Linked DNA regions of Homo sapiens: all the other regions are linked to region 1. The links are contacts of gene promoters, found by promoter capture Hi-C in human tissues and cell types (Jung and others, 2019). All regions are on one chromosome and are shown on one strand. Each heading gives the region's core, a stretch centred on a gene start or on the middle of the fragment in contact. The rest is flanking DNA. Distances are from core to core; before and after follow the strand shown. Region 1 holds the start of NELFCD (negative elongation factor complex member C/D). Region 2 overlaps APCDD1L (APC down-regulated 1 like). Region 3 has its middle 140 kb from the start of PHACTR3. Region 4 has its middle 54 kb from the start of EDN3. Region 5 overlaps APCDD1L-DT (APCDD1L divergent transcript). Region 6 overlaps EDN3 (endothelin 3). Region 7 has its middle 16 kb from the start of EDN3.

Region 1 (3,228 bases), core at 245-2,744:
TTTCAAAGCATCCAGATTTTATGGCGTTAATCTCCCTGTTTAAAATTTTCTGTGATTTGGACACAAAGATGGGAACAACAGACATGGGGTATTCCAAAAGGCAGAAGGTGTGGAGGGGGGTAAAGGCTGAAAAAGTTGCCGAAAGGATTAGAAGCATCACGCAATATACCAATGTAACAAACCTGCACACGCACCGAATCTAAAATTAAAACAAAACAAAAACACAACAACCAAACAAAAACCTTTCCGTGATCATCAGGAGGCTGTCATATTCTCACCCCCTACTTCACGCTGGGAATCGAGCTGCGGGCTTTACAACAGCGTCAGCTGCTCCCTTTGGCAACGACCAGAGAGGTCCTTTCTCCAGAGATTTTTGTCAGCTCTGGGCACTTTTGCTTTGTGGGCCTATCTTCCACTTTATAAAAAATTAAAAATGCTACTTTCCACTGCATTCAGTACTTTTTCTTCTCTTTTCTTTTTTCTTTTCTTTTCTTTCTTTCTTCTTTCTTTCTTTTTCTTTTTCTTTTTTTTTTTTTTTTTGACACAGTTTCACTCTGTTGCCTAGGCTGGAGTGCGGTGGTGTGATCTTGGCTCACTGCAACCTCCACCTCCTGGGTTCAAGCGGTTCTCGTGACTCAGCCTCTTGAGTAGCTGAGACTACAGGCGCCCGCCACCATGCCCAGCTAATTTTTGTGTTATTAGTAGAGAAGGGGTTTTACCATGTTGACCAGGCTGGTCTCGAACTCCTGACCTCAGGTGATCCGCCCGCCTCGGCCTCCCAAAGTGTTGGGATTACAGGCGTGAGCCACCGTGCCCTGCCCTTTTTATGTATGTATTTATTTATTTGAGATAGGGTCTCGCTCTGTCGCTCAGGCTGGAGTGCAATGGTGCGATCTTGGCTCACTGCAACCTCCGCCTCCCGGGTTCAAGCGATTCTCCTGCCTCAGTCACCCGAGTACCTGGGATTACAGGCGCATGCCACCACGCCCGGCTAATTTTTGTATTTTGAGCAGAGACGGGGTTTCACCATGTTGGCCAGACTGGCCTCGAACTCCTGACCTCAAGTGATCCGTCAGCCTCGGTCTCCCAAAGTGCTGGGATTACAGGCGTGAGCCCCCACGCCCGGTCGCGTTTAGTACTTTTTACCAAAACTAAAAGAAATTAAAACACTTTCGTGGGTCCTGGACACTTCCGGAAGGATTTGTTTCCAGCTGCCAGATGAGGAAACTGGGGCTCGCAGAGCCGGCGCCGCAGGGGAGGGGCTGTGCACGAATCCAGTGGGAAACCTCTCTCCGGAGCTAAGCCCCTGGTCCACCCGGGCATCGCTCCGGGATCGACTGGGGGCGTTCCTTCCGCCGGTCCCCTTTGTTCCCAGTGCCGAGCCCGCGGCCCTGCCCTTCCTCCAGGCCCCGCCCCTTCTTCCAGGCCCCGCCTCCCGCCCGGGCCGAGGCGCGCGGCCGCGCGTGCGCCCGCCCGCCCGTCCCCGCCTCGCGCATGCGCCGCGCTCGCTCGCGGGAGGGCATGGCGGGGGCCGTGCCGGGCGCCATCATGGACGAGGACTACTACGGGAGCGCGGCCGAGTGGGGCGACGAGGCTGACGGCGGCCAGGTGAGGCGGGGCACTGGGCGCACCCTAGAGAGAATCGTTCGTCTCCGCCGCCGGCGGGCCGGCCCCACTCCCGGAGAGGCCGCGCGGCGCGAGGCTGCGGGCGTGCGGGGGGTGTGCGCGCGCACGGCCCGCGCGGTCACCGTGTGGTTCAAGCACAGCCCGCCCCGCCCCCGCCCGCCCGGGGTCCCGCGGCGCGGCCGCCGGGGTCCCCGCCTCCTCGCCTGCAGGACCTTGGGGTGGGGGTGAGGCGCCGGAGGCTCTGGCGCGGGGCGGCCCGAGGCCCCCAGTACCCCCTCGCTCCGGCCAGGCCCGGCGCCGGCCCTGCGACCCCCGCGGCGGGCGGGACACCAACGCTAAGGTGGAGGGTTGGGTCCGGAGCTCACAGACTTTTAAACAAAAATAAAGTGGAAAAACTTCACAGCAGCATCATGAGGAAAAAGTAGAACTTAGGGCATTCCTACATGTGCTTTACTGTTTTATAAACTGTACTCTTCAGCACCTTGGGCTGATTTCATCTGTTTTTGGGCAAACTGATGGAAAGGATTTTCGGGCCTTGACCTTCCAGGGTTTGGGGTGGAAGCCCAGGAGGGATCACTGTTCCACCCTGAGGACAGGGACTGCAGAGCCAGGGCAGGTAGCTCTAGTCTGGACAGTGTGTCCCCACCTTACTCTAAAGACCCAACTGAGGCGCATGATTGAAATGTAGCTTCTCACGTCCCTCCCCTGGAGACGGCCCAACAGTTGGTCTGGACGGGAGCCTGGGAACTTGCATTTTTTTTTTTTTTTTTTTTTTTTTTTTTTTTTGTGGTGGAGTTTCGCTCTTGTTGCCCAGGCTGGAGTGTAATGGCGCCATCGCGGCTCACTGCAACGTCTGCCTCTCGGATTCAAGCGATTCTCCTGCCTCAGCCTCCCGAATAGCTGGGATTACAGGCACCCACCACCATGCCCAGCTAATTTTTAAAATTTTGAGTAGAGAGGGGGTTTCACCTTGTTGGCCAGGCTGGTCTCAAACTCTTGACCTCAGGTGATCCACCCACCTCTGCCTCCCAAAGTACTGGGATTACAGGCGTGAGCCACTGCTCGTGGCCCAGGAACTTGCATTTTTAACAACAATCAAGATTGGGGATGTCTGGTGCATTTTGAAGTGGTATTATAAGGGAATAAAGGATGAAGTGGGGCTTACGTTGATAAACATGGGTGGTGGTGTGATGGCGGCTTCGGAGCCATGGTCTAAAATGCCAAGGCGGGCGATGTGTTTCTGGAACTGAAAGAAGCCCTGTGATGTTAGCTGCCTGGTGGAAGCAGTGGCAGGAGGTCAGTAGGGAGCAGGTTCTGAAGATCCTTGGAGAGCTGCTGAATGGTATGGCTTGTTCAGGAGTTTGGGGCAGGGAGTGACACGAGTAGATTTGCATGTTGGATCATTTCACAGTGTTGGAGGCTTAGGGTGGAGTGGATAGAGTCAGACTTAGCTAACTGAGAGCTTGGGCCATGTGTGTCATGCGTTATCCCCTTCCACACACAGGATTTTGAGTTGGGTGTTACCCTACTTATCTGGTAAGTGTAGAAAATGAGACGAAAAGACTTACTGACCTGCCCAAGGTCATGAAACTAATAAAGGAA
Region 2 (3,228 bases), core at 252-2,751, 500 kb before region 1:
TCCCCTTCCCTTCCCTTCCCTCATTTCTCCCTTCCTCTGCCTGTGACTCCACGAGTCTGCCAGCCTCATGAGGGCTGGGTCCTCATCTCTCTTGCTCACTGCTGATTCTCTAGCACCTGGCACAGTGCCTCAGGGATGCCCAATACATATTTGTTGTGTTAAGTCATGGAAAGTGCTTAGGACAATGCCTTCATAGACTAAGTGCTCAGTAAATGCTATTTATAATGACTACTTTTCGCTGAATGAATGAATGGCTTGTGGTCCATAGCAGCACGTGTGTGACTTCCTTGTTGACCCTTCTCCCACCCCTCAGGATGTGGCCATTACAGTCAGGCTTGAAGCAGGAGAGGAGAAAGACAAGGTTTACAGCTGTTGGGATTGCCAAGAATCTGGCTGAGGGCAAAAGGGTGATCAGTCAGGGAGTTCCCAGCAGGCTGGGGGCCCAGGCTGATCCAAGCAGGTAGAGAGGAAAGAGAAGTAGGTGAAGGGAGATTGGTGTGTGAGCATCAGATCATGTCACAGGCTTAGATGGGTTGGATCTGGCCTAAGAAGCGAATGCCAGGTGCTTTGCTTTAAAGCCTCTTTTCACCCTTGGAACCTGCCCTAGTGAAACCAGGATCCTGACATGGTCCTGCACCCCCAAGGAAGCCTCCACTAGCTCCACAGTCACATAATGCAAGCCATAAATGTCAGCCCTGCATGTGATTTTACTGGTGCATGTTTTCTAGTAGCCATGTTAAAAAAGCTAAAAAGAGACAGGTAAAATCAATTTTAATGATATATTTTATCCGGCTCCAAGTACTATATATTTCAACATGTAACAAATACAACGATTAATGAGATATTTTATGTGCTTTTCCCCCCCATACCAAGTCTTCAGAACTTGGTGTATATTTTATACTTACAGCACAACTCAATTTAGACAGGTCACATTTCAGGTGCCCTGTGACTACATGGCCAGATTAGACAGCAGAGCTCTAGCTCAAGGATGGAGCATGCATGTCACATTTTGCTGTATCAGAGGTTTTCAAGTTGGCTTCTGAAGACCCTGGGGTTATTTTTGAAACAGATAGGGCAACCCAGTGGGTAGGATGTAGTCTTTGACCCAGCTTTAGCCCAAACAGTCCCTATCTGTTGCTCTGTTTTATATACTGAGGTTTGGATTAAGATTTGCTTTTTTTTTTTTTTTTTTTCTTAAAATATCTGAAACCCTCTAGTTTATTTCAAAACCGTCAGCTTGAGGTAATTCACCTAGAAAGTTTGGACTTGGAGGAAGCTTACACATATTTTAAATAAAAATTTCAGCAATGGCTCCCTACCCAAAAAATAACCTCTCTTGATTAGAGGAGGCTGCCTTTTACAAATGGAGGAGATATGCTGGCTGCGATGGTGGCCCTGGCTGCGTGGCCATTAAGCTTCAGAGACCGGCTGTGGAAATGGAGCCATTCCAGCACTGCTGCAGCCAAAGATGTACTTTCCAATGAAGTCACTGCACAAAAGGCATGCAGGGTTTGCACCAGAACACCCCCAGAAGGCTGCAGATTGGATGCTATGACTGGATGCTGCATCAACAAACACAGAAATATGAAGACACACTTTGCATTCTAAGAAGCCCACCTCCAACCTCTGGTGTGAATGGCTGGTCCTCAGATACCTCACATGTCTCTCATTTGGCTATAATGGAATCTCCTCATCCACCTAATCCGAGAATCTTCGTGTTCAGGGCTGGCAGGCAAGTTGGGGAATGGGTTGGACTTTGCTACCTTGGGAAACACAGAAATTATATGCTCTAAACAAAGCACCCTCCACCCGCCGCAGCCTTCAGCATCCCAGCCCTGTGGAATGTGCCCTCCTCTGCTCAGTGCACTCAGAGAGTTGAAGGCTGCCCGAGAAAGTCAGTCAAGGGGTACCTGGCAGAGCAGGTCTGAGGATGTGAGAAGCAGAAGGGCCTTTGGATTAAGAAGCTGCGGGTTGACAGGTGATCAAAGGGACAGGGTTTGGTTAGCTACTGGCCCCCCAGTTCTCCATGAAAAGTCTCAGGTCAGTCTGGACCACGGGATGGAGGACAAAGGTGGGCCTTGCTTGGTACCACCTGGAGAAGGTGACTGCTTCATGTTTGTGTGACATGTGCTTAAGCCACAATGGAAAACGCTGCGTATGAGGAAGCGGCTGGCCACTGAGGATAACTCCCCGAGGCCTCTGCTTAGCCACTCCTGCTGAGGGAAAGGAAGTGCACAGTTCACAGAATGGGAAAGGAATGGGGGCCTGGGGAGACGAGTTCTGGCCCACCAAGCCTGGCTCATAAGCTAGGTTTTTCTGTTTGTTTGTTTAGGAATGTTCCAGAACGAAAACTGTGCACATGAAAACTCTCCCTTGGCCTCATGATAATGCTAATTATTCTTGCTCTGGCTGGAGCTCCCACCCAGTTGGAAACTGGAACATCCCAGCCACAGGCCAGCTGCTTCCAAAGAGCCAAGGAAGCAGGGTGACAGATGGAAGCGTTTCCCTTTTCACCCAGATGTTCCGGTGTTTTGGAGACAAGGCCTCGTTAACTTGACTTTAGCACCTGCGTTCCCAGCTTGCACGTTGGTCTGTAGACATTATTTATACCAAACTTGGCCAATGCTGTCCACTGATGCCAACATCCCACCTGGTGCTTGGAGGAGCCGGTGAGGGGATGATGACAGCTTGTAGCATCACTGCGTAGAAGGGGTTCTGAATGTGCCCAGATCTCACTGAATGTCCTGTTGCCTGCCCTAAGCGGTGTAGTTAGGAGTCAGTGTTTTCCAAACAGAATGTGTATCTGGGAGTCTCCCGTTGGACTGAACTTTTATTAGCTCTCTTGGCAGAAGGCTGAAGCTTTTATTGTTCTATAGAACAGGACTTCGGCAAGATAATCACAAGGTTTTGACACATTCAATAAGAACGAAGGTGTTCGTATACATCATGGCGAAGACCCCTCAGAACCCAGAAAGGGTGCCTGAGAGGGACTCCTGGGATGCCCCCTTGAGCGGCTGAACTCTTCATGGCCTTGGCAACTGGTTCTCCACCAGATCTTCCCCAGAGGGGCCAAGAATCTTGTCGGGCCGCAGAAATATTTAGGTTTTGAGGAGAGAGGGATGGAGGATGGTGGTTTCCATTGAGTACCCTTGGATCTGAGACCTGCCCAAAGATGTCGGGGGTGACTGGGAGGAACCCCAGCGTCGGGGGAGGCACACCACTCACCGA
Region 3 (3,228 bases), core at 515-3,014, 490 kb after region 1:
ACCTGGAAGACCCTGGGACCCCAGAGCCCTGGTGTGACTGTCTCAGCCTAGGTTGTCCTTAGCCCTCTACCCCTGGCTCTTGTATTACCCCGCTGACTTTATCTTCTGGAACTCAACCCCACACTGGGCCCAGCATGATGGCCCTGCTCCCTTCCTCTGTCTCCCTCCTCCTTCTTCCTCCTTCTGCCCCATCTGACACAGCCCAGGGCCTTCAAGGTTCCTATCTGCTTTGCCAGCAAGGCCTGCCCAGCTTCTTCTCTGCCACTAAAGGGGTGCTGGGACCCGGTGTCCCCAAGTCTCCCATCCTCTACAGCCCCCACCCACCTGTGCTTTGGCAGGAGATGAGCCTTGAGTGCTCAAAAGTCACATGTCCCCCAAATCCCCAGGGTTTCAAGGAAGGGACCTTACAGCCTCCCTGTGCCAAGGCCAACATCTCACAAGAATACCCGGTTCCCGAGGCCGAGGCTGGGGTCCCAGGAGATGTGTTGCAGTTTTGTTTTTTGTTTTTATTTAACCCATAAATATTCCAATACATGGCACTAAAAAATAAGAAATCTGCCAAATAAGGGTGGTCACACATGTTACTATTAACAGCTAAAATATTAAAAATTATTAATATCATGAAATATCCAATCAGTATTTAAGTTTTGAATTGTTATTTTATCTATATGTTTGAAAGAGGATATATAATAGGTCTATACGTTGCCATGGATTCACCGAAATAGATCAAAACTCATCCAATATGTTTACATTTAGGAGTTCATAGTGACACTATCGGTCACTGCTGGAGGATGTCAGGGAACCAACTTATGATTTTGAAAAGTGATCAATGAAGAGAAAGAAGGAGGATTTGACCTGTCTTCCCCATGAAGGCCATCCGAGCCCCTGCGCTCCTGACTAGTCAGTCCTCGGAGGGGGCGGGAGTGGGTTTTGGGGACCCGAGGCTGACACCCTACTCCAAGCAGTCCTGGTCATCTTCGCATGGCTTCATCAGGCTGTGGTGCACCCTGACCTCTGCCCTCCAGGGGAGGAGAAGAAATCTTCCTCCTCAGTCAATAGGGCCGCCCCCGTTCTATCCTCGCTTATGGATTCATCTCTCAGGGCAGCTGCAGAATTTGCACGCCCGGGGCCACGTGAAAATGCCTGCCCCCTTCCTCCCAAAGTATGAAGATTTTGAAGACAGGACAGCAGAGCATTAAACTAAGCATGGGCTGTCTGAGCACAGCAGGCTGCACAACCACGGGGGCTGCCCACCCCGCACAACCTGCAGGCCTCATCTCCTGGGGGGTAAGGACTGGCAACATCAAGAGAAAGGAGGGGAAGGGGCTGGGATGAAGAGGCTGCCCAGGCCTATTTTACAGGCCACATGGGAAGGAAGAGAAGCCATCTCCAGAGACCTCATGAAGAACCAATCGCCAAAGCCAGAAACCAGACAAGAGCTAAGAGAGCCCAGAAAGAAAATTCAAAAAGCCAACATCAGAGCCGTAACCTTTCCTCTGTCACCAAAGTGTCTGCTCTTGGCCCTGGCTGGTGCCAAAATGTCACCACTCAGAGTTGCAGCTTCAGACCCAAGCGGCTGGGGCTGCAGGGGCAGGAGGGGGCCTGGGTGCCAGCCCAGCCCTCACCAGGTCCCCAAGCCCTTCACACCAGCTGCAACAGTGAGAATGAGGATGTTTGTGACATTGCCAGATGAGATGGTAACTAACGGCCCTGCCAGGCCCCAGGGATGCAGGGCAGGCTCCATGCAGCAGATGTTCTGTGATTACGAGGAAATTGAGGCAGGCGGAGGTTCCTGAGTCCAGAGGCTCTCCACCTCTGGCAGGCTGAGCCCAGCCTCCTTAAGGATGCAGCTCTGCTTGCACCAGGGAAGGGGAATGGGGAGGGAAGAGGGATGATCTTGTTGGGAGCAGGCAGTCTACAAAGAGCCCCACGCATCTGCTTCCAATTCATGACAACCTGGCTCTATTGTTGTTGTTTATTTTCCTTAAATGAAGTTAATAGTTTTAAAATTTGCCATATGTTGGCTTCGGTTAAGTTCTTTGCAGTGGTTTATGTAACCCAAGTGTGAGGGCCAAGGCCTGCAAGCCCCTGGAGTTGACTCTGACCACCTGGCCTGTGTCACACCCTGAGGTGCGTGTGTCTGAGGGAAGTGGGTAGGGTCCCCATAAAAAAAACTGAGGGGCCATTTCCAAGGAACGAAAACACAGGCCAGTGGGCAATAGTCCCACCCAAGGACAGAGGAGGGCTTGAAGAAATGCAGACGGCTGGGCCATCCTGGGGCTCTCTTGGTCCCAGTGTAGCCTGGGAATCTGCATTTTAAAACCTCCCCAGGGGATTCTAATGAGCAGTGAGAGAACTGCTGCCCCACCCTACCTCTGAGAGAGGCTGGAAGGACAAAGGGCTTACAAATTCTGCTATTATGCTGATAACAGTAATAGCAATTATTATTATTTTCAGTGAGAAAACTGCGGGCTCAGGGAAGTCACCTGGTACAGCCAATCTGGATGGAGGGCCCTGGCTTCTGCCATGCCAAAGCCTGTGCCTTGGAATCTATTTTAACTTAGCCAAAGTAAGAATATTTGCATGATTTCTGTTCTAGTCCATAATCAGCAGTCACTTGATGTTTTTTGTTTTTCAAGCAGTAGGCAGTTCACAGGGCTGAAAGAATTGGGAGGTGAATTATAAACTTTCTGCTTGAAGTGTTCCCAAATTCCAGACTCTGGAGCAATCGAGGGAGCCCTTCACAGCTGAACAGGAAACCCTGGCAATGGGGGCACAGAGGCAAAGGGCAGGGCCCTCCTTGGCACTGCAGCAGTTAGCCTGGGGAGAGGCTGAGAGGCAGGCGCATGACAGGGCATGGATCTCTCGGGGGTCACGGCCGAGTGCTCCTGGACTGGGAAAGGACAAGAGGGAAGATACCATGACCTTCAACAGGGGGCCTGAGGCCACCTGTAAGTTCTTTCATAAAGAACAGCCTTGAACTTCTGCAGGGAGGCAGGGAAGGGAAAATCAGGCCTCCTGGAGGCAGGAGGAGAGGGCCCCAGGTCTTGGCTGTTGGTACTGCCAGTAGCTCCCCTTCGTCTCTCTGTCTTTCTGTGTTCCCTTGACACCTGTCACCTTGTGCCTGTGGCAGAGCATGCGTCTGAATCAGTGCGAGGGTTTGTTCAAACACAGCGTGCTGGCCTCGCCCCTGAGGATCTGATTTAGGAGATCTGGGGAGGGGGAGAA
Region 4 (3,228 bases), core at 472-2,971, 370 kb after region 1:
ATGGGCTGGAGCTGGGGACCAACTGCCGCCTTCAGGAGGCATGTTCCTGCCTGCTTGCCACTCTCCCCACCCAGCTGTGGGCATATACAGAACTAAAGTGGGGTGTCCTGGAGGAGAGGGGGAGGGGGAAGGGGAAGGGAAGGGCAAGGAGCAATTCGGCAGAGATAGGAAAAAGATGGGGACGGTGCAAGGCCATTCATTCCTCACTCGGGGACCATGACGGGCCACATGAGAGAGGTCAGATGCTTGTAGGAGCAGTATCAGCCTGGTCTCAACAATGGGGCAACGGGCACCTCTCTGGTGAGCCGTGTGGACAGGTGGACCCAGCCATAAGGACCTCTCCTATGCTTTGGGGCTGGCTTGGACCTCAGCACAGCCCTGGGGGAGTCCCACAGTGCCATCCAGCTGGCATATGGACACGTGGAGGTGAATTTCGTCCATGGGGAGAAGTAGGAGCCTGGCTAGTTCTTGCCCCTCTTGAGATGTGGCCTGAGATTCTCCCTAGCTATGAGGAGCTTGACAGCCTGGGGAACAGGCCCTTTTCCCCTGCTCTGGATCGCCCAGGCTCTGCGCCTGGCAGCCATGGCTTCATTTATTGATCAAGGTGGCAGCAATTTTCTCATCACAGAATCTAACCCAGTGCACGCCCCTGGTGTGTGTGTGTCTTCTGCTTGCTGTCAGTGACAGGTGAGGCCTGGGGTGGTGGATGGGGCCAGAAAGGATGGAAGCCTGGGGAGGAGACGGTTCCCAACCCTCATGCGGCTTTCCTCCACTATTCCTCTGGGCCGACTGGGCTTCATGGAACTCTCGCGGCTGCCCCACTTGATGGATGAGGACACCAGGTCTGAGAACTTCCCAGGTCACAGGGCAGGGATTCAGACCCTAGGCCAGGCCTGAATCGTGCCCACTTTAGAACAGGGTGGCCTTGTTGCTGGGCATTTTCTGCAGTGCCATTGTGCCTCATTTGCCTTGTGTACACGGGGCCGACCGGTCATGCCTGCGTGCGTGCACCCAGCAGGGCCCCGCAAAGTCCTACCTGCTTTTCTGTCTGCCTGGAGTGCGCACCCTCCACTCTCAGCTTACCACTTATTGCCTCATCCTAAATACCCCCTTTAGGCTTTTTGTTTTGCTCTTTTAGATGAAGAAAACTTTGAAATTAAAATGCAAAATCGGATCTTTGCCTTTTGTGATAAAAGCCCATTTCCTCCTCAATCAAGCACAATTATACAAAGGTATTCATTGCATCACCTGGTAAAGCTGAGATCAATATGAACAGGCTGGGTTTTGGCTTCCGTAACTCCCAGCACCAAGCCTGGGGGCTGTCAGGAGCCTGAGGCTTCCTGGTTTCAGGTGCAGCCACTCTAGTGCAGGAGGCAGGCCTTCCTCGTGACTCCTCCTAGGAAGATGGGCCCCACCTGCTGTGTTTCCAGTCACGTAGTTGCTGCGGCGGGTGGGTCTCCTCCCAGTGGACAGTCACCCCAGAGAGCACAGACCCCAGCACTCCCAGGCCTGGCACCTCCAAGGGGCCAAGTGAATAAAGTAAATGAGACGGGTGAACACGGCTCCACGGGCGTTAAGGCCATGGGCTCCCACGCTGCACGACTTTAGTCCTGCCTCTCCTCGCTCTATGACCTTGGGCGGCAGCCACGGAACTCACGGAGCCTCAGCTTGCTCATCTCAAAAGTGGACGCGACCACGCAGCCTCTTCCCGTGGGGCTGAGGTGAGCACTCAGTGGAATGATCACCGTGCCTCAGGCAGGACAAGAGCCACGGGGACTGTGGCTATTTCTAATATCCTTAGTAGTAGTAGTATTAATGGTGCACAGGAGTGGGGACAGCGGGAGTTCTCAAGGGACCCTCCTTGTCACGGATGTTATCGCTGGGACTTGGGGATGGCTTCAAGAGCCACAGGAACATTCACCAAGTAACTGCTGGGATCCAGGAAAGCAAGAGGGAGATGCCGCTGGGCCTTTCCAATGACCTCTGCCTGTCTCCCCCACCACACTCAGCTACTGTGGAAGTTGGGAGTTTGAGCTGGGCCAGGCTTCCTCTTCTCTGCTTACCGTTGTCTTTGTGATGAATGCAACCCTCTCTGTCTCTCTCCCCATCTCCCCTCTCTCCCCTCTCTCCCTCTCTCTCACTCCCTCTCCCTCTCTCCCTCTCCCTCCCTCTCTCCCTCTCTGCCTCTCTCCCTCTCCCCTCTCTTCCTCTCCCCCTCCCCTCTCTTCCTCTCCCCCTCCCCTCTCTTCCTCTCCCCCTCTCCCCCTTTCCCCCTCTCCCTCTCCCCCTCTCCCCTCTCTCCCTCTGTCCCCCTCCCTCCTCTCCCTATCTCCCCCCTCCCTCCTCTCTCCCTCCCTCCTCTGTCCCTCTCCTCCTCCCTCCTCTGTCCCTCTCCCCCCTCCTCTCTCCCTCTCCCCCCCTCCTCTCTCCCTCTCCCCCCTCCTCTCTCCCTCTCCCCCCTCTTCTCTCCCTCTCCCCCCCCTCTCTTCTCCTCTCCTCTTTTCCTCTCCTCTCTCCTCCTCCCCGACTCCCCTCTCTCCTTCTCCCCTCTCTTTTCCTCCCCTCTTTTCCTCCCCTCTCATTTCCTCCCCTCTCTTCTCCTCCCCCCTTTTCCTCCACTCTCTTTTCTTCCCCTATCTTTCCCTCCCCTCTTTTTCTCTCCTCTCTCCCCCACTCCCATCTCTCCCTCTCCCCCTCTTCTTCTTCCACTCTCTTCCCTCCCTCTCCCCTCTCTCCCATCTGTCTCTCCTCTGTCCCCTCTCTATCCTCTCTCTCTCCCCTCTCTCCTCTCTCTCCCCTCTGTCCTGTCCTGTCTCTTCTCTCTCCGTTTCCTCCTGCTCATAGGAACCAGGGCTCACATTCTAAGGAACTAAAGGCCATGAAGAAATACCAGGGGGTTTCCTCCAGAGGGTGGAGGTTGGCCCCTGTGGCTGCCACGTGGTGTCCTGGGGGTGGGCTTGGAGTTGCTCTGTGAAGATCCAGGGGACCTGCATCTGGGGTTACTTATGGCACAGTGCTAGAATTCTAGAGGGGAGCCCTCTGGGCACTCCTCCAAGGCCACATCCCAGACGTGGTGGGAGCTGCAGGGTCAGGTCATCGATGGTGTATTTCACGCTAACCAGATGTGGGCGGGCATGTGCCCTCCAGCAGATCCTTCAGAAGGAAGGAAGGAAGCTGTCACTGGGCCTTCCCAAGGCAAGCCCAGGCTTTCTCACACACCATCTCAGT
Region 5 (3,228 bases), core at 357-2,856, 370 kb before region 1:
CCCCAGATCAGATGATTCTGGTGTAGGTTTGTGGCCTGCCTAGGCTGGAGGACTGACTTCAGCATTACCACCAGGACAGGTGGACTTGGGTGGGGCCGCTTCACCACTGCCGAGCCATGCAACCTGGGACAAGCCCTGGACCTCTCTGAACCTCAGGCTCATCACAAAACAGGAATCATCATCCTCCTCACCTATGGAGTTGTTGAGGAATGAATGAGTTCATCTGGGCAGAGCATGCAGTCCCAACAGGACGGAATTTGCTTCCCAAGGGGGAAAAACATATTTTACTCTTTACATTTAAAGCATGGATACCTGAACAGTACCTAAACAGACACCCAGTATACCTGTGGCGTTAAAGTGTCATCGGAGAGAGCTATTAGGAAAAAATGCCTTAAAAGCCTCCTTGCAGGGGTGAAGAATGGCAAAAGCTTACAAAGATGGTTCCTGGAACACAGCAGGTGCTCAGCAAACTTCAGCTGCTTTGCTGTTATTACTACTCACAGCAGGTGTCACAGAGGAAGGACTGGTTGCAAGCTTGGGTTTAGGAGCCATACTGTTGGAGGTCCCTTCCTGGCTCTGCCACTTGCCAGCTGTGTGACATTGGGCAAGTTGCTTGACTTTTCTGTGCCTCAGTTTCTCTCATCTGGAAGCAGAGCTAATTAGAGCACCTGTCTCGTGCAGTTTTGTGTAGATTAGATGGGTTGATTTGTGTGGTATGTGTAGTTCAGTGCCTGGCACACAGTAAACACTCAGTAAATGCAAGCTATGATTATTATTGATTAAGATTGTTAATTATGACATGCAAGGAACTTGGGGGTCAATGGTGCTCATTGAGGGGAAACTGTAAGGAAGGGTGAGGTTCAAGGTTGGCCCCTAACTGCTTCTCCTGGGCATCTGGTCTGGCTCTAGCCTCAACCACTAAGGGCTGTCCTGGGCTCCAGAGGAGGGGCCGGGTGCCAGCCTAGGGCAGGAGCACCAACCGAGCACGTGAAGCACTTTGCACAGTGGCAGGGTGCTCAGGACTCTATGGAACACCCCTATCTGAGCACTGACTTCAGAGCAACGTGTCCTCCATGCATAACCCAGCTCCACATGCAGGGAGCCTGGGCCACTGCGGCCAGCTGCCCCCTTACCCTCTCCATGCCTGACCTGGCTGAGGTGGGGAGGGAGGAGTCTATCCCCTTCACACGACTTCCCAGACGGTGAGCCCCTCGCTTTCCTGGTCCGGACCCACAGTGAAGACTCGCTCTCCTGGGATCCCACGGAGACCTTACGAGGCCCCACGTGGTCCAGCCTGCCCGCCCATCCCTGCTCATCAGCCCACTGGCCACCCACTGCTCCAGAACACAGCAAGCCTGTCCCGCCTCAGGACCTTAGCACAGGCCATTCCACTGCCTGGAACTCTCTCCCCGTGGCTGGGGCCTTCTCAGCCTCCAAGTCCCCCAGTCAACCGTCCCCTCCCCTGACAGGCCTTCCCAGACCATCCAGGGTGAAGTGGACGTCACACGCCCTCCCCTCCCCTCCCCAGGTCTTCTCGTCATCATATCCCTGTTTCATTTTTGTGTTGCTCTAATCACGAACAACCATTCTCTGTGTGCGTGTTTCCTGTCCTTCTCCCCGTGAAAGATGACAAGCTCCATGGGCTGGGGGCTTTGTCTTGCCTGCTTCCTGCCCGCCACTTCCCAGTCCAGGGCCCCGCCAGCCCTCAGTACCTGCTTGTTGTGGGGATGAAGCCCACCGAGACCTTGGCTGCGCTCGTCATTTGCTGCGGTTGCCATCCCATTTTACAGCTGTAGACACTGACAGCAGAGATTCCTTTTGTGTCAATATCTCAGGGAAGTTTCTGGAACCCCTACCCAGGACCCAGGGAAAGGACTCTGCCTGGGAGGTTTCAGAGGGCACAGGAATGCAACACTGCTCAGGCCCTGGCACTTACATTTCTCTGCAAGGAGCATTTTCCTAAAATTTGTCTGTTGCCTCTGGACGCGTAAGCAAGGTGACTAAGGGACTCAGGATTTGATTAGGCAGCAAATCCGGATAAACAGGACAGGTGGCACTAATCAGAGCTGACGACTAGACAAGGCCTGGGAGGCCCTCAGGCTCTGTGAGCTCAGAGCACCTCTGTGGAAACTTCCTTCTGCCCGGTCCCCAGAGAGGATGGCCACAGCAGCACCCTGCCTGGCTGGGACGTGGCTGGATGGGGCACAGGCCTGGAGACCATGTGGCATGCACCCTGCCACTGAGCCCCCAGGTGGAGGTGCCAGGGGAGGGAGGTGGGGCTGCACAGGGTTTCTTGGCTGTCTCCAGCCAGTGGGGGACACTGAGCTTGAACTGGGCAGGTGACGACTTCTCTGGGCCTCAGTTTCCCCCTCTCTAGAGGTGATGAGTACAGGCCTGGGCTCCTGGCCCTGAGGTCCTAGGAAATGCTCTGTGCTGCAGACAGTCCATGAGGCCAGGACTGGCTCTGGCCCAGCCTGGTGTCTCCCAGGGCATGGAGGGAACACACATTCACTTCCAGAGAGCTGGAGCCTGGGGCAGGACTCTTGCCAACAGCCCCCGGCCAGAACCTGCAGGCCTCCCTCAGGTCCCACCTGGAGCCACCTGCCTGCCATGCCTTCCTGGCCTCGTTCCCCCATGGTAAAACAGTCACTGTGCCAGCCTTGGGCCAGGCTCTGACCTAAGTGTGTGTTTGTAAAGCAGTAGCTTCCTTTTTGCCTTCCAACAACCCGCAAGCCAGGAACTGTCACTGGCTCTCGTGTCACAAACGTGGTTTGAGGAACGCCTGCAAGGTCTCATGGTTAGAAAGGGCAGAGCTGGATTTCGGACCCATGCTGGCTTGAGAGGAAGACTCCCTCCCTCCCTCCCTCCCTCCTTCCCCCCTTTTCCTCCCTCCCTCCCTCTTCCTCCCTCTCTCTTTTCTAGTGACCAGAGCTTTCACTGATCAGCTAACAGTATTTGGCTAGCTCCCCAGGATCTGCTCCTCAATCCTAAATGGGACAGAAGTCTTGGCCACCAAGCGTGCCTGTGTCCCCCGCCAGGTTGAGGGGCAGAGGGTGCCACTGTGGCCCCCCGTGCCTGGCGGAAAGCACACCCCGGCTGGGTTCTTAAATCCGTAAGGTCACAATCAACAAGTGAAGGCACCCTGAGGACCCAAGGGCAGAGAGTTCCAGGAGGCGGCTGCGGGAGGGGCTGTCTGGGGCCCCCTCAGGCCCGCAGGGGTCAGGGCCT
Region 6 (3,228 bases), core at 212-2,711, 340 kb after region 1:
TACAATATGTCCCCTGGGCCAAAAGGCAATATTGCCTCTGCTTTCCCAGTTCAGAAGGAAAAATGTGAACCGAGGAAGCAGATCATCAACTTGACATGTATCCTAAGTGTGACATGAACATGTTCTATTTGTTGGGGAGACACTCAAGTCACCAGCTGGGCTTTTTAAATGAAAACAACACCTCTATTTAAATGAAACAACGCCTCTATCTGTAAAGAGGAAAATAGTATCAGGTACTCATTTTGTTCATGTGTCATCTGACCTATCTGCCTTCGCTTTATGGAATAAACCACTAGACTAGGAGTTGTAAACTCAGATGCTCCTGAGGGCCAGACACATAAAAAAGATGAGCGAAGGGGGCCAGGTATAAAACTACTGAAAATGGTGGGGACTGGGGCAGAATGGAGGGTTTACGCCCAGTCTCTGAGATCATTACCCGGCTGCCATGCTGGAATATGAGGTTGGTATTAGCACAACTTCCAATTCTTCAAGAAAAGCTGGAAATCGGGATGTTTATGTGAAATTTCCGGATTTAACAAAAAACACTATGGTTCACGCCTGTAATCCCAGCACTTTGGGAGGGTGAGGGGGTGGATCACGAGGTCAAACGACTGAGACCATTCTGGCCAACATGGTGAAACCCTGTCTCTACTAAAAATACAAAAAAATTAGCTGGGTGTGGTGGTGTGTGCCTGTAGTCCCAGCTGCTTGGGAGGGTGAGGCACGAGAATCGCTCAAACCCAGGAGGCGGAGGTTGCAGTGAGCCAAGATTGCGCCACTGCACTCCAGCCTGGCGACAGAGTGAGACTCTGTCTCAAAACGAAAACAAAAACAAAACACTGTTGACTGAAAAAAGCTGACAAAAATGCCAATTTGCTGACCTCAGTACTGGATTAAAAGTGTATGTGTGCAGGGCAGGGCCCCGCCCCTTGTCTGTCTTTACATAAGTTTTACCCGGAGTCTAGTCCAGCGCCTGCATGTTGAAAAGCAGTTGGCAAATATTTGTTGAATGCTATTCAGTTGTGGGGGGTGGAATAAAAACTGGGTTTTCAATAGGGAATGACAGTTTGATAAGCTTTCCTAAGAATTTAGAATCTGGTCAGTGGGAATATCTGTGTCTCTTCTTTAAACTTCAGATATACAGGCCAGTCTCCTGATCAGAAAGATGGAGAGTGTTAATTCATTCATGAAAAGGCAACACGGAACTTAAAAACAGAATCTTTAAAACAAAAGTCAGCTTTCCTTATTTAAAAACTTCTTGTAGAGAGAAATAAAGCGTTTTCAGTGTGGTGTTGCAGATGAAGAATGAATATGAGAGATTGGGGAATTTAATATTTAATAACACTTATACATGATGTTTGGGAAAACGTGACAAATAAGAAACATTTGATAAAAAAGACTCTGTTGTCACCACACCAATCAAATAATGAATGTTCTGAATACATAAGTTGAGTGATAATTTATTGGATGAACACACACAACACCAGAGATTGCGTATGTAAGTGTGCTGGAGGGCATTTTGTTTTTTCTAAGGATATTTGGATTAATCTTCTCACCTGCTTTTCTTTTGCATGGAGCTTTGTTTTATAACTGAGACATGAACAGATGGAAGAGCTGCCTACTTGTATAAAGGATTGTATTCTGAAAACCCCGTTGTATTATAGAGCGGTAGGCCCCAGCCACTGGGCAGGGCATGCTGGTCAAAGGTTCTCCGCCAATTTCACTTCACGTTCATGGTCCACCGTTAGGTCTTTCCTGTTCACTACTCAGTAAACAGCCAGCGATGAAGCAGGCCACAAATGAAATATGAATGCTCATGAGATATGAGTACGTTATCACTACTGAAATAGAAGTGCTCATGAGCTGGTAATCTGGCGTCAGAGCTCGGTGAGAAGGTGGTGTCGAATGAGGTGACCTGTGGCCTTGGGCTCCTTATTACCCTTCTTTATTGCTAAGTCAAACATCTCAAATGCCAAGCTTAGTAGGTGGGACTTTTCTGATACAACTCACTTGACCTCCCAGACCAGATAAATAACAATAGTAGCTACTGTTTGCTTATGGCACTTTGCTAAGTATTTTCCATGCAGTATCTCCTTTGCTTTGTCCAGCCACACTTTTGTCGACCAGGAAGTTGTTGAGAGGGTGAAGTGATCATCATGTAACATAAGAGCAGTATTACCAGGTCATGTGTCTCTGTGTGTACCTTGCACATACCTGTACCTACTGGCCTTTTTTCCTTTACCTGTTTTCGTAGTCCAACAGCATATAACTCCTGAAGGCATGGACACATAGGGATGTGCCTTTCTGTGTCCCTGTGACACTTACATTGATACCACGTATATAGTGGATGCTGAAGAATGTTGGAGATTCTTTCAGTGATTTTTGTGGTTATTGAACTCTTTAGGGTGAAAAGAATCCTGTCTCGCCAGACTAGAATGATCTCACCATGAATTACCAGTTGCTCAATCAATAATCTGTTCGCCTGGCCTTGTGTGAGGCCCATGGTGGGTAAAAAAGAAGTAAAAGACCTGCCCTCTCTTTTGAGGATCCAGTAATCTGCCTTTAGACTTGGGTAAGAAACACTGCAACTCTGGGCCCTGTGGGTTAGAGGACTGCCTCTGACGCCACTCTGGCCATGCCTCCCACCCCACTGTAAGAGTCTGGGACTCAAAGCCATATGCTCCCTCTTCAAGACCATGTTCCAGGTATTCAGGGGCTGGAATTCCCTACTCACGCATCCCCAAGACCACTTCCAGGGCCTGACACTTGGGGATGAGCAGGGCTCCAGGTACATATCTCCAGGCCTGCAGGGTGACAGCTGCTTACAGGATGTAGGGTGGAAGGAGCTTGGAGGAAGCAGCCTGGGGCATGCACGGGGAGTGCTTGAAGCCAGCGCTGGTGTGGGATGGCGCAGGATAGCAGAGAAGGTACTGGGCCTCCACCACATGTCGATACGGAGTGGCCAGGAGCCCAGGATTCTAAATTAAAAGCTGGACCTGCAAGGCAGCATTTGGAAGCCACATTTGTCCAGATACAGGAGATAACACTTTTTCGTTTCAGGGCTTATCAGATCGATTGAAACCTTTAAATGATTAGCCCTGTGGGAGGTGGGCCTCCATCGCGAACTCTCATTCCAGACTCTACAATGTCAGCGGCAGGCTCTGCTGGGCCGTCAGCTTCCCTCACCTCCGCACGGGTCGGTCAGCAGACTGCACACCCGGAAGGCCC
Region 7 (3,228 bases), core at 401-2,900, 300 kb after region 1:
TGCCACCTTGGGGTTTGTGCCCTTCCATTTCATAATCATGTGACCTTTATTTCCTTTCTTTTCTGTTGACAATTTTTTCTAAGAGATTTGGAGCATCTCTTTCGCTTGAAATTTTTATGACCTTTAAAACTCCTGCCTCCATTCTCCCTAAGACTGCCTTCAGAAAAGCTGCAGCTGATCCCAGCACATGACTCACACAGCATCTACCTGTCACATTCCAAGTGCCTCGCTGTGTCGTGGGCATCAAGTGGCAAAATGAACAAAGATCGAATGTCAGGAGGCCCTATCCAGGGTCACATGCTTGGCCGCACTTCCCCTTTCAAGAGCTGGTGGGAGAAAGATTTTGAGCAGGGTCACCGAAGACAGGTATGCTCTGTAGGAGAGCAAAGAGAAGGAAGAAATGCTTTGCCTTAATGACTTTTTCAAAGACTCAGGATTTCCCTGGATGCCTTTCTGGCTTTGAACTAAAGTGCTCTGAAAGATCAACTTGCTTGGCTATATTGCCCTTGGTAACTTTTCTTGGGGAAGACAGGAAGCTTCCCCACTACCCTTTTTTTAAAGAAAAGTATTTTTTAAATTGTGGAAGCCAGGCGGGAAGCCAGCCTCCTGAGTAGCTGGGATTACAGGGACGCACCACCACACTCAGCTATTTTTTTATATTTTTAGTAAAGACAGGGTTTCACTATGTTGGCCAGACTGATCTGAACTCCTGACCTCGTGATCTGCCCGTCTTGGCCTCCCAAAGTGCTGGGATTACAGGCATGAGCCACCCTGCCCGGCTGTCATTATTCTATTTTTAGTCTTCTGAGGAGCTGCCATACTGTTTTTCACAGCAGCTGTACCATTTGCATTTTCACCAGTGGTGCTCAAGTGTACCGATTTCTCCATATCCTCACCAACACTGGTTACTTTCTGTTATTTTGATAATAGCCATCCTAATGGGTGTGAAGTGGTATCTCATTGTGGTTTTGATCTGTTTTTCCCTAATAAGGAGTGATGTTGAGCGTCTGGTCCTGTGCTTATTGGCCATTAGTACATACTCTTTGGAGAAAAGTCTTCAAATCCTTTGCCATATTTTAATTGAGTTTGCTTTTTTGTTGTTGCATTTTGGTTTTTTACATATTCTGGATGTTAATCCCTTAAGAGATAAGCAATTTGCAAATACTTTCTTCCAGTCTGTGGGCTGCCTTATTACTCTGTTGATGGGTCCTCTGATGCACAAGTTTTTAATTTTGATGAAGTCCAATTTGCCTATTTTTTCTTTTGTTGTCTGTGCCTTTGGTGTCAATAAATCATTGCTAAATCCTTTGTCATGGATTTAGCATGGAAAAAGCTTTCTCCATATGTTGTCTTCTAAGAGTTTCAGAATTGTAGCTCCTACATTTAGGTCTTTGGTCAATTTTGAGCTAATTTTTGTATGTGGTGTTAGCTAAGGGTCCACTTTTATTCTTTTGAATGTGGATATCCTGTTTTTCCAGGACCATTTGTTGAAAAGATTGTCTTTTCCTCTATTGAATGGGTTGGCATCCTTGTTGAAAATCAATTTCACATATATTTGATGGTTTATTCTTGGGCATGCCCTCAGGAACTTTTACTGTATTCATGCATTCTTTCTTTGAATTTGCCATATTTTTGTGTTATCCATGTTCTCTGTGCCTGTCTCACTGTTCCACCAGATTACAAACTTCTTGAGAATGGTTTCTAGATTGTTTTCACTAGTTTGTGTGTTGCCATTGCCTAGTGGCTTTATTTATTTACTGGGGCTAATCTGATCAATGTAGTCAGGCTGGCTATATTAGCATAAATGACCTGGCAAGTGGGTTTGCATTGATCCCCATTTGAAGCTTGCCCATCCTGAGCACGTTGTAGGACGATTATGAGTATTCTAATGATTTTGCTCTACCAGCCTCCTTCTCTAGCCAGTGAGCATCTTGGCAGTGCCTGGCCCATTGCTCACTTCTTAATAAGTGTTTTGAGCAAACAGATAAGCCCGTGGATAAATAGCTGTTGAGAATGTGGAGTAGCCACTGGAGTCTGCTACACTCATCGGGGGAGCGTGGCCCAGAGGGGTTGAATCACAGGTGGATTCTCCTTTTCAGTCCCCTTTTCTGGATCTTCTTTCTCTTTCTGGATCTAAACTTTGGATCACCTCAGGTCTCAGCCTCAGATCTCTTCTCCATCCACATTTATTTCCAGGCTAAGCTTATCCTGAAGCTTTAAATGCAATCCATTTGCTGACAACTGCTGAGTCCAAATCTCCAGACCCACCCTCTCTCGTAAGACTAGTGAAGCCACTGAGCCCTTCTGAGCCAGTGTCCTCATCTGCAAACAAGGGATACTATGATCTTCCTTGCTGCTGTGTATTATAGATACTGTGTGCCAATGCCGGGCACCTAGAAGTGGTCAGCATTATTTCAGTTTATCTTATTAAGAGTCAGCTGTAGGAAGCCCCTAAAGACTACTTATATTATCAGATATTCCACAATAAAGAACATTTGGAAAAAATTAAAACAAGAGTTAAAATGTGGAAATCTGCATGCATGGCAGGCAGCTGAAAGCCACCCTAGACTCCTCAAAGTGTGGAGGGTGTATACTGTTTGTACTTTTCCATGTTAATCTGTTTTCCCAAAGGGTTTGTTTTGTTTTGTTTTGAGGCAGAGTTTCACTCTTGTTGCCCAGGCTGGAGTGCAATGGCACGATCTTGGCTCACCACAACCTCCACCTCCCGGGTTCAAGTGATTCTCCTGCCTCAGCCTCCCGAGTACCTGGGATTACAGGCATGCACCACCATGCATGGCTAATTTTTGTATTTTTAGTAGATATGGGGTTTCTCCATGTGGGTCAGGCTGGTCTTGAACTCCTGACCTCAGGTGATCCGCCTGCCTCAGCCTCCCAAACTGCCGGGACTACAGGTGTCAGCCACTGTGCCCGGTCCTCCCAAAGGGTTTTAGTTTGTCGATTCCTTTTGTCTTCAACCAGTTGAGAGCAGCCATATCAACAGAGGCCAGAGTGATTTCAAACTGAAAATGACTGTGGTGTTGAGCTATAGGCCTGGTGATGCTGCAGAGCAGGAGAGCCCCAAAATTGGGGCTTAGCCCTGGAGGGTTCTTGGCTTAGCCCAGGAAAGACTTTAAGGGTGAGCCAGTGGTGTTCAACAACAGCTTTGATTGAAGGGGCCGTGCACAGCAGTGGCAGAGGGACTGCACCTTGTAGAGCAGGGCTCCCCCA

What was found. Contacts are between HindIII fragments. The study calls those that stand out against the background at their distance.
Region 2: a contact is called between a fragment that was not itself captured here and the fragment with the promoter of NELFCD in region 1, in 1 of the 25 tissues and cell types used here (liver).
Region 3: a fragment that was not itself captured here is called in contact with the fragment with the promoter of NELFCD in region 1 in 1 of the 25 tissues and cell types used here (mesendoderm cells).
Region 4: a fragment that was not itself captured here is called in contact with the fragment with the promoter of NELFCD in region 1 in 1 of the 25 tissues and cell types used here (small bowel).
Region 5: a contact is called between a fragment that was not itself captured here and the fragment with the promoter of NELFCD in region 1, in 1 of the 25 tissues and cell types used here (adrenal gland).
Region 6: a contact is called between a fragment that was not itself captured here and the fragment with the promoter of NELFCD in region 1, in 1 of the 25 tissues and cell types used here (hippocampus).
Region 7: a fragment that was not itself captured here is called in contact with the fragment with the promoter of NELFCD in region 1 in 1 of the 25 tissues and cell types used here (thymus).

What each region holds. Positions count from the first base shown.
Region 1 is chr20:58,979,762-58,982,989 of GRCh38, forward strand. It overlaps NELFCD (negative elongation factor complex member C/D), which reads left to right and starts at 1,495. Exons shown (of 15, transcript NM_198976.4): 1 at 1,495-1,608. The coding sequence starts at 1,549. RefSeq lists a silencer at 1,351-1,830 and an enhancer at 1,753-2,253. The HindIII fragment of the contact is 13,643 bases long and covers 1-3,228 here.
Region 2 is chr20:58,478,420-58,481,647 of GRCh38, forward strand. The region is part of intron 1 of APCDD1L (APC down-regulated 1 like); the gene reads right to left. Among named protein-coding and RNA genes, the nearest start is that of APCDD1L-DT, 35 kb to the right of the region's middle. The HindIII fragment of the contact is 3,432 bases long and covers 1-3,217 here.
Region 3 is chr20:59,465,327-59,468,554 of GRCh38, forward strand. No RefSeq gene overlaps it. Among named protein-coding and RNA genes, the nearest start is that of PHACTR3, 140 kb to the right of the region's middle. The HindIII fragment of the contact is 3,378 bases long and covers 76-3,228 here.
Region 4 is chr20:59,353,344-59,356,571 of GRCh38, forward strand. No RefSeq gene overlaps it. Among named protein-coding and RNA genes, the nearest start is that of EDN3, 54 kb to the left of the region's middle. The HindIII fragment of the contact is 5,311 bases long and covers 1-3,228 here.
Region 5 is chr20:58,609,287-58,612,514 of GRCh38, forward strand. All of the region lies in intron 6 of APCDD1L-DT (APCDD1L divergent transcript), which reads left to right. Among named protein-coding and RNA genes, the nearest start is that of LINC01711, 24 kb to the right of the region's middle. RefSeq lists an enhancer at 713-1,214. The HindIII fragment of the contact is 6,289 bases long and covers 1-3,228 here.
Region 6 is chr20:59,315,369-59,318,596 of GRCh38, forward strand. The region is part of intron 2 of EDN3 (endothelin 3); the gene reads left to right. Among named protein-coding and RNA genes, the nearest start is that of EDN3, 16 kb to the left of the region's middle. RefSeq lists an enhancer at 2,581-3,081. The HindIII fragment of the contact is 4,742 bases long and covers 1-3,228 here.
Region 7 is chr20:59,282,665-59,285,892 of GRCh38, forward strand. No RefSeq gene overlaps it. Among named protein-coding and RNA genes, the nearest start is that of EDN3, 16 kb to the right of the region's middle. The HindIII fragment of the contact is 4,109 bases long and covers 1-3,228 here.